2 separate regions of the Homo sapiens genome follow, and region 1 is linked to region 2. The links are contacts of gene promoters, found by promoter capture Hi-C in human tissues and cell types (Jung and others, 2019). All regions are on one chromosome and are shown on one strand. The core of a region is centred on a gene start or on the middle of the fragment in contact, and the rest is flanking DNA. Distances in the headings are between cores, read along the strand shown.

What was found. Contacts are between HindIII fragments. The study calls those that stand out against the background at their distance.
Region 1: a contact is called between a fragment that was not itself captured here and the fragment with the promoter of TP53I3 in region 2, in 1 of the 25 tissues and cell types used here (mesendoderm cells).

Annotation. Positions count from the first base shown.
Region 1 is chr2:24,267,171-24,272,642 of GRCh38, reverse strand. ITSN2 (intersectin 2) reads left to right here. Exons shown (of 40, transcript NM_006277.3): 19 at 702-877; 20 at 1,875-1,972. Among named protein-coding and RNA genes, the nearest start is that of ITSN2, 91 kb to the left of the region's middle. The HindIII fragment of the contact is 4,180 bases long and covers 1,346-5,472 here.
Region 2 is chr2:24,082,482-24,087,274 of GRCh38, reverse strand. It overlaps TP53I3 (tumor protein p53 inducible protein 3), which reads left to right and starts at 2,441. Exons shown (of 5, transcript NM_004881.5): 1 at 2,441-3,086; 2 at 4,123-4,390. The coding sequence starts at 2,949. It also overlaps a transcript of FAM228B not described here. RefSeq lists enhancers at 1,656-2,156, 2,904-2,953, 3,104-3,203, 3,799-4,729 and a silencer at 2,714-2,893. The HindIII fragment of the contact is 16,390 bases long and covers 1-4,793 here.

The DNA of each region.
Region 1 (5,472 bases), core at 2,186-4,685, 180 kb before region 2:
GCAACATAGCAAGACCCTGTCTTTATAAAAAAGAAATTAAAAAGTTGGCTAGGTATAGTGGCATGTGCCTGTAGTGCTAGCTACTTTGGAGGCTGAGGCAGGAGGATCACTTGAGCCCAGGAGATCCAGGCTGCAGTGACCTGTGATTGAACCACTGTACTCTAGCCTGGGCCATAGAGTAAGACCCTCTCTCTTTAAAAAAAAAAAAAAAAAAAAAAGTAGGTTGTTTTTCTAGAAGCATTTCCTATTTCCACAGCAACAATGACTAAACCCCTGAAACAAAGATTAGATAGGACAGTGGGAATAACAGCTGGAAGACAGTTCTTGTCAAATATCTGGAGAGAAAGGAAGGAAACTTAGATGTAATTTTTAGATTTATTTGCTGAATGGTTCCATTTCAACCTTTTTCTTTTTTTCTTGAGTTTGGAGGTTGGTTAGCAGGAGGGAATTTTTGGGTGTGGGAAATTGTCAGTCATACACCCCAGTGCATCCACTAATCAATCCAAAGCTTCCAAAGCTTTTCTTGATTGATTGATTGATTTGTTTTCCTTTCACCTCTGATCTCAGCAGTTTCTCCCCACCCCTGTACTAATACTTCATTGCTAGTTCTTCACCTTGACAGGAACCAGATCTTAGTATGTTTTTATTTAGTGTAAAAAATTTCTAGGACATTATACAAACTCTTTTTCTTTTATGTAAAGGAAAGCAAAGCAAGGAAAAGAAAACTTATGGAAAGAAAATCTTAGAAAGGAGGAAGAAGAAAAACAAAAGCGACTCCAGGAAGAAAAAACACAAGAAAAAATTCAAGAAGAGGAACGGAAAGCTGAGGAGAAACAACGTAAGGATAAGGATACTTTGAAAGCTGAGGAGAAAAAACGTAAGGATAAGGATACTTTGAGACAGTAGAACAAATGCAACAAGAAAAAAATGACCTGATAAGAGACAAAAAAAGGGAAGAAAATTAGAAAGATACTAATTGTAGAGTCAGAAAAAACCTTTTTATAAATTAAACTTGGATAAAAAGCAGTAGGCTTATTAAAACAGACTGAAATCTTAACACAGCAGTAGAAATCTTAGCACAGCAGGAGAAAAGAAGATAGTTACTACTGATTGTGAAAAGACTCAGACATGGTTTTCATAATTGAAGTAAAATAGTTTTAAATATTTTATTCAACCACTATAACTAAGCTATTTATTTTAATGAAACAACAGTAAAATTTTGATACACCTCAGTCCATTTCCACAATACTTTTAGTAGTATTGTATCTCTTTTAGATACATGAACCCTTTGAATCATTATTAATGATACAGTTTGTTGAAATTTTATAAGTTAAAACATTCTAAAGATGAACAAAGTAAACAATTTTATTCTTATCAAATTCAGTATATTTGTGTACTCTTCCACTGTTTTCCTTTTAGAACCATTCTGATAGATGTATAGATTTTTCTTCAGCCATCCCTGTTAACTTGCTATTCTTATCTTTTGAGACCCCCCTTTTTGTCCTTTACTTCCCTGTTATATTCAGACCTCCACAGATCAAACCAAGCCTCTCTTTGCTTGGTCTCCTTCCACTTTGTACAGCTCAGCCTGGCCCCCACTCCTGCACTTTCCTTTCTACCCATGTGTGTGCTTCATCCCGCAAGTCATCTCTTTGTTTTGCTGCCTCCTACCTTACTTAAGATGAGCATCCTTGTTTGCTTTTTTATTAGATGACTAGTCAAGATACTGAAATCCTAGCAAGTCTGTATCAAGTGGATTTTCATTGTAGTATTTGGTGCTTGATTTTTTCTTTTAGGTTTTAGAGCTCTTTATTGAGTCATAGCAAAGATGTATACATGTAAGTTGCAAATAATGACAATTGTCTTCTCTTTAGGTGAGACAGCTAGTGTTTTGGTGAATTATAGAGCATTATACCCCTTTGAAGCAAGGAACCATGATGAGATGAGTTTTAATTCTGGAGATATAATTCAGGTAGGAAATGAATTTTTTTTTTAATCATGAATAACCTAAATACATTGTAATATATTAGTTTCTGTAGTAATGTTGACCATTAATTTCATATATTTACCTTTGTAAAATGTTTCTTAAACATTACCTCATTTGGACTTTACAACATACTTCAGAGCTGCATAGGACAGTTATTATTACTAACTAAGTTCTAGCCAAGGAAGCTTAAACTCACACAAGTTGTAACTGTCAGCATTGCAGTGCCAGAATGGGATGCAGTTATGTGTTTTTTTATTTCCAAATCCAGCGTTGTTTCTGCTATGCCATACAGCAACTGTTAAAAGAATTGAAGGAGTTAGATTCCACAGCCCTAACTGGATACAGGCAATTTGTTCCTTGGAACGAAAGTCTTTATTGTGTTATCACAATCCATATAAAATACATGAATAAGAGAAGATCCCAGGAGTAGTGTTTGATAGAGCCAGTAGGACATAATGGAAAGAGTACAGGCTTTAGAAGCACACAAACTTGGATTTTAGTCTCTGCTTCTGTTTTCTTCTTGTTAAACTAATGTTAACCAGAGTATCTAGCCAGAGTATCTAGCCAGTGCCTCTTTCCCCCGCTCCCCCTGCACTGTCACCAGTTAGTGTGATTTATCAGTTAGGTGGCAAATGTTTAATGATACTAGGGAAAAAAATTTACCAAAACGCTAGCACCCAAGATAAACCCTAAACACACATTCCTGCTCTTGCCATTGCCGCTATTAGTAGTACCGGAGCTGTGCCCGAGCAGGGGGAGAGGTTTGTTCTACAACCAGCCCAAGTCCACTGTCTGCTCTTCCTACCATTCCTCCTCTCCTTGTTGGTGATGGTGTCTGGATGAAGAGATACAACCAATCTCTGGGCGTGTTTGGTCAAGAGTTTACTTATATTTTTGGTTATATTTTTTATTTATTTCAACAAATATTTTTTGAGGGCTGACTATGTTAGACTAGGGATTTAGTGAATAAGACATTATCTCTGCTCTTAACACGCTTGTAGGCTAATGAAAAAGCGTGACAACCTAAAGCAGTAGAGGAAGGAAGGTAAGGAAAAGGTTGTAGACTGCTACCAGCTTTAGCACAGACCTCTCCCATGGTCAGAGAGCCATTCTGGTGGCAGTGACAACAGAAACATAAAGTTAGCTGTGTGTCTTGGGTGCTTGTGTACTCTGCTGAATCATTAACATGAAGTATTAGTCATGAGTTACTACTGTCAGTCATGAGTTGCCTGATTTGAACAAATTGGTTAATGATGGTGTCATTTCCTAAGAGGGAAAATCAGAGGGGGAATATATAAGTAGAATTATGAGTTCAGTTTTGTATGAGTTTCAGATGTCCAGGCAGTAGTAGTTGGATCTCCAGAGTACCTAGAGAGATGTCAGGCAGCGGTCTGGGCTGAGGATGTAAATCTGGATGTCGCCAGTGTGATGTGATGGTGTTGGAAGACATGAGAGTAATGGAGCTCATCCAGGGGAGTAGTAACGTGAGAGAGAAGAGGATTGAGGATGCAGTTCCTGAGAAACATGGACACTGAAGGAATTATTAGAGGAAGTGGAGCCTTAAAAGGAGTGACTAGTAGTAGGAAAAAAAAAAAAACAGGAGAGTTTAATGTTAGGGAACTTTGAGAAGAGTGATCTGCAAGTGAAATAAAACAAGGACTAAAAAAATTATTAGATTAGCAATAGCACAGGTGTTGTTAACTTGAGGACAGCAGTATCAGTTAAGTGGACTAGTAGAGCGAGAAGCCAGATTTCAGTGAGTTGGAATAAATTGGAAGAGAGGAAGAGGAGACAGTGAATATATAAAACTCTTTGAATGAGCTTGGCTTTGAAAGGGAGAAGGAGAGAAGGTAGTAAATAATGAGAAATGTGGGTTGAGGGAAGTTTTTTTTTTTTTTAAAGTTGGCTGAAGCTTGAGCAAGTTTAAATAATAGTAGAAAGGATCTGCAGAGAGGAAACAGGTTAATGATAATGGAAAGAGTATAAATAACTGATAAAGATTGTTTTTTCTTATTAAAGTATAATTTATATATAGCAAAGTGTACAACCATAAGTATACAGCTCAAAGAATGTGTACACATCTGTGTATCTGTGAAGCCCCCCTCAGATCAGTGTGTAGAACGTACAGCATCAGGAAGGCACTTCATGTTCCTTGTCAAACCTCCCTGTTCTGACTAATAGATGGAGATGAGGAAGATTCTTGAAAAGGCTAGAAGGCTGGAATCTGGAGCCCTGGAAGAGAGTGGTAGAAGGATTGAATACCTTATCCTTTGTCATTAGAGGGCAGGAAGAAAGGGTGGGAGGGATTAAAGTAAATTTTGCTGAAGTAGAAGATGAAGTCAGGTCCCAGGACTTCCAAATTCCCGGTAAGATAGGAGGCAAGGTCTGATCAACTTAATGGATGAGGGTGTTACCGGAGGTTTCATTGAAAGTGAAAAGGATTAGAAATTCCACTGAGTCTTGGCCACATTTTCGATGACAAGCTGAAATGTTTTTCTAGCCTTCTAATCTGTTAATGCTATTTTGCTAACATTAATTAATAAGTAGTTAAGAAGAAGTAATAAGTAGTTTTGCTAGGCCTGTGAGAATTTATATAAAATGTTCAGTTTAACTCAGTATGTAAATTAACAACTAAAAATTAATTACAACTATAAATGACAGATGTGAAAGAGATTAAAATTGACCTCTTACTAAAACAACTTGGCCTAACTACAGAATAAATGAACGAGATTTTTCTTCTTGATTAGGTTGAAAACACTAGGAAAAAGTGTATCTAGAAATTAATACTTTTAAAAGCTTTTGGCCAGGTGCAGGTGCACACCCATAATCCCAGCACTTTGAGAGGCCGAGGCAGGAGTATCACGTAGGTACTGGCGTTAGAGACCAGCCTGGGCAACATAGGAAGACCCTGTTTCTACAAAAAGTAAAAAAAAATTAGCGGGGCTTGGTGGTGTGCACCTGTAGTCCCACCTGCTGTGGAGACTGAGGTGGCAGAATCACTTGAGCCCAGGAGGTCAAGGCTACAGTGAGCTGTGATTGCACCACTGCACTCTAGTAGCCTGGGTGACAGAGTAAGACCCTGTCTGAAAAGTCAGCCAGCCAGCCAAGTCCGTCAGTGAAGGGAGGTAGAAAGGAAAGTAGGAAGGGCATGTAAGTAAATGTGGTAAATGTGTGTGTGTGTATGTATGTATGTACATATGTGTACCTATATATAGCCAATACTCATAGCTTACGGTGATTCCTTTCCTTAAGACCATACTTTTTTTTTTTTTTTATACTTTAAGTTCTGGGATACATGTGCAGAACGTGCAGGTTTGTTACATAGGTATACATGTGCCATGGTGGTTTGCTGCACCCATCAACCTGTCATCTACGTTAGGTATTTCTCCTAATGCTTTCCTCCCCTAGTCCCCCACCCCCTGACAGGTCCCGCTGTGTGATGTTCCCCTCCCTGTGTCCATGTGTTCTCATTGTTCAACTCCCAC
Region 2 (4,793 bases), core at 1,192-3,691:
ACCGTATATCTAGTTAAAAACAAAAGAAAGAAAGAGATGTTTATTCAGCAAATAACAAAGGTTTTAGGAGTGCTATTGTAGGAACCCAGGACAAAGACCAAAAATATATATTTCTTATTACACACTGCAAGATTACATCGACCAAGGGCTCACTAAGATAAAATCTTAGGCACTTTCAACTACTAGTTTTACTGGGATACTTTAGTATACTTAGTGGTTGGTATTATTAGATTTTTTTTAAAGTTACTCCTTGCATCTTAAAAGTTCTTATTTAGCACTTACATTACACATTCCTCATCTATCTTAATCCATTCCATTTTCTTAATCCAATCAGTTTTAGTGTCGATTTTTGCAAAGTTTGTTATTTACAACTATTTCCTTTCCATCTGTCTCTGTTCTAGGATATTTATTTGGTTCAAACCTTTCCTCGATTTTGGACAGATGTGTATCCGGATGATGTGTCTCTGAATCCTTATACATCCTCAGACATGTTTTTTGCCCTAACAAGTGAATTATATCTTAATGGGGTATATTGAGTTACAGTGCTTTTCTTCTAGTCAATAGACGCTAGTCTACTCTCTTCTAGCTTCCAGATTGCAGATAGAAACTTGCTGGGCACAGTGGCTCATACTTGTAATCCTAGCACTTTGGGAGGCTGAGGCAGGAGGATTGCTTGAGTCCAGGAGTTTGAGACCAGCCTGGGCAACATAATGAGACCCCTACACTACAAAAAAGAGAGAGAGAGAAAGAGGGGGTGGGGAAGGAGGGAAGGAAGGAAGGAGGGAGGGAGGGAGAGAAGGAAGCCATTTTTTTTAACCAATTGTGAGTAACTTATTCTTTCCACACTTGTTAGAACCTGAAATTTTATAAAATATAGGCATGCATTTTTGTTCTTATGAATCCATCCTTTAGTGAATGTTTTCAATCCGTATAATCTGGTAGAATTTAGGAAAACTGTATTCTTTTATTTGGTTAACTATTGAATCTTCTTCATCCATTCCTCTTCCTCCTTCTAAAATTCCTTTTTTTTTTTTTTTTTTGAGACGGAGTCTCACTCTGTCGTCCAGGCTGGAGTGCAGTGGTGCGATCTCGGCTCACTGCAAGCTCCCCCTCCCGGGTTCACGCCATTCTCCTGCCTCAGCCTCCCGAATAGCTGGGACTACAGGCGCCCGCCACCACGCCCGGCTAATTTTTTGTATTTTTAGTAGAGACGGGGTTTCACCGTGTTAGCCAGGATGGTCTCGATCTCCTGACCTCGTGATCCGCCCGCCTTGGCCTCCCAAAGTTCTGGGATTACAGGCGTGAGCCACCGCGCCCGGCCTAAAATTCCTGTTATTCTCATAGCAGGGTCTCCTGAATTTTTCCTTAAGTCCCATCATTTTATTATTTCCATCTCTATAGGCTTTTGCTCTGTTGTGTTAAAGAAATAATTATTCAATGATACTTGTTAAAGCACATTAAGGAAGACTTTATTTAGCACCATCGCTACAGGTTTAGGGACCACTGCAATGAGTTCTTGCAGTGGAGGAGACAGGTTGGGATCAACTCTGAATGCATCACGGACAAGTGGGAATGTATAGCCAAGGAGCAGTGTAGGGGGTCAGTGGATGGAAAATTGGTAAGAGGCATCAGGGGTAAGGGGGATTCTATCTAAACTGACCTAACAGGATTCTCACTGAAGACAGGCCAGGGTGGTCGGATATCACTTGGGGGATGGTGGAGGATGAGATATTGAGGGTGATCAGATGTCAAGGATGGGAGGTTCTTACTAAAACAGGAATTTACAAGGAGTGCTACGGATATGTAGTGGGGGGAGGCCAGGGATGCTGCTAAACATCCTACGATGCACAGGACGATCTCCTACAATAACGAACTAGCTAGTCCAAAATGTCAATAGCGCCGAGATTGAGAAACCTTCATGTAGCTTACGGATACAGCTTTTACCCAATCGCCAGCATCCTTCTCCTGGGGCTGAACCTCTCCCCCAGGACTGTCAGGAGGAGGCGAGTGATAAGGATCCCAGGACTGCGTTTTGCCTTCCTTCCCCACCCCCACTCCCAACGGCTCCTTTCTCTTCTCTTAGCAGCACCCAGCTTGCCCACCCATGCTCAAGATGGGCGGGATGCCAGCCTGTTACATAAATGTGCCAAAAGCCTGGCCATGCCTGGAAAATGGACCAATCCGCCCGCCAAGAGGTTGGGTCTCGTTCCCTAGAGAGAAGGAAGTTTCCTCTCCTTGAAGTGAGAGCTAGAATCGCACTTTCTGTCAAGCTGAGAGAAAGACTCTTTTCCAGAGGCTAAAAGGACAAGAAAATCTGATTTGCTTGCTTCTAACTTTGCGTTTTAAAGGGGGAAGGAGGAAAGGAAAGAGGGGGAGGGTGGTTCTGCTTAGCCCCACCCCTCCGGCTACCCCAGGTCCAGCCGTCCATTCCGGTGGAGGCAGAGGCAGTCCTGGGGCTCTGGGGCTCGGGCTTTGTCACCGGGACCCGCAGGAGCCAGAACCACTCGGCGCCGCCTGGTGCATGGGAGGGGAGCCGGGCCAGGAGTAAGTAACTCATACGGGCGCCGGGGACCCGGGTCGGGCTGGGGGCTTCCAACTCAGAGGGAGTGTGATTTGCCTGATCCTCTTCGGCGTTGTCCTGCTCTGCCGCATCCAGCCCTGTACCGCCATCCCACTTCCCGCCGTTCCCATCTGTGTTCCGGGTGGGATCGGTCTGGAGGCGGCCGAGGACTTCCCAGGCAGGAGCTCGGGGCGGAGGCCGGGTCCGCGGCAGACCAGGGCAGCGAGGCGCTGGCCGGCAGGGGGCGCTGCGGTGCCAGCCTGAGGCTGGGCTGCTCCGCGAGGATACAGCGGCCCCTGCCCTGTCCTGTCCTGCCCTGCCCTGTCCTGTCCTGCCCTGCCCTGCCCTGTCCTGTCCTGCCCTGCCCTGCCCTGTGTCCTCAGACAATATGTTAGCCGTGCACTTTGACAAGCCGGGAGGACCGGAAAACCTCTACGTGAAGGAGGTGGCCAAGCCGAGCCCGGGGGAGGGTGAAGTCCTCCTGAAGGTGGCGGCCAGCGCCCTGAACCGGGCGGACTTAATGCAGGTACCCAGGGCTCAGCCGCGCCGGGGCGGGCGGGACTCCAGAGCCTCCCTCTCAACAGCACTCAGTGGACATTGACCAGACGTGAAGGCGTGCACCGCTCCACACCCAGCAGGCAGCTGCGCTGGGGCTTCCCAGACCTAAACCCAGGGCGCCCTCTTTGTTCATGCAAAACAAGGGGGAGTACTTGTAAAGCAGAATCCACCCCGAGCTAATCCATAGCCACTCAGGCCTCCAGATGAGGGCGGAACTAACATTGTTGTGGGGTGTGGGCACACTTACTCCCCAGGCTACCCTGTTCGCCATCTTAATTCTACAGATAAGGAAACTGAAGTTCAGTGAGGTTAAGCAGTACGCCCAAGGCCGTGACACTAGCAATCAGAAGAGCTGGGATTCAAGCTGAGGTCTTTGTGGCTCCAAAGACCTCTTAACTCTTTCCACTCTGAGAGTCCCGGAGCTGACAGCGGGCAGTACTCTTAAGAATTTTCTTCTGTCTGATGCTGATTTACTGACCTGGGCCAGCTGCATTGGTTGGGGTCATTCAGAAATGTGCATCAGAATCCCCCGGGGCACAAAAGAAACGTGATGGGGGCCCAGGCACGTGTACTTTGAAATACTCCTCAGGTGGTTCTGCCACACACTCCTGGTTAAGTCCCTCTGCTCTACAGCTTCTGAGGACTGGGGTGAGTGAGCACAGAGCCTAGCGCTTGATGCATGGGAACCATCGTCAAGGTTCCTAATCCCACTACTATTATTTCCCGTCTGGGACTCAGTTTCTCCATCTGTAAAGCAAGGGGTTCAGATGAGGTAAATAGCTAAGGACTCTACCAGTTATAACATCCACTGATCATGTGACCTCCAGTTTATTTGCATAAAACTAATGGCCTCTCCTTTTTCTTCTCCTTACTTACAAAAACCTGACTTCATTCTGAAATTTATTTTTGAAAAAAAAAAGAGGGGATCTTGGAAGGGGGGCCAGGGGTAGTGACATACAGATTTCTGATCATGCTCACCACTTAGTGCACTTCTTTCTCTGCAGAGACAAGGCCAGTATGACCCACCTCCAGGAGCCAGCAACATTTTGGGACTTGAGGCATCTGGACATGTGGCAGAGCTGGGGCCTGGCTGCCAGGGACACTGGAAGATCGGGGACACAGCCATGGCTCTGCTCCCCGGTGGGGGCCAGGCTCAGTACGTCACTGTCCCCGAAGGGCTCCTCATGCCTATCCCAGAGGGATTGACCCTGACCCAGGCTGCAGCCATCCCAGAGGCCTGGCTCACCGCCTTCCAGCTGTTACATCTTGTGGGTGAGGAGGCCTCCATGCTCACTCCACACAATGTGGCTCAACACCTTCATAAATCAGCCAACTTGAATCCCAGCAATCCCCCAGGGCACTCCCAGGCCTTCCTGTATCACCTGTATTGTCAGGTCCTCAAACCATGTTAGAAGGGTTTAATGTTGAGGCTGAGAATCATGGTTAGCAGATAGAGGGTCTGGATAACACTAGATAGGAGGCCTATGTACATGTTAACACCGGACGCCCAGCAGAAGTCCCAGCTTCTTAGAATCATACTGAGCTTCTCTCTGGGGTCCCAGTGCAACAGAAGGGACCAATTGACTCATTTATTCCTCCTCAATCCCACAGAGGCCAGTCAAGAACTCACATAAGGGAATCTAAGAAGACTTGGTCCTTGCCTTTAGACAGTGCA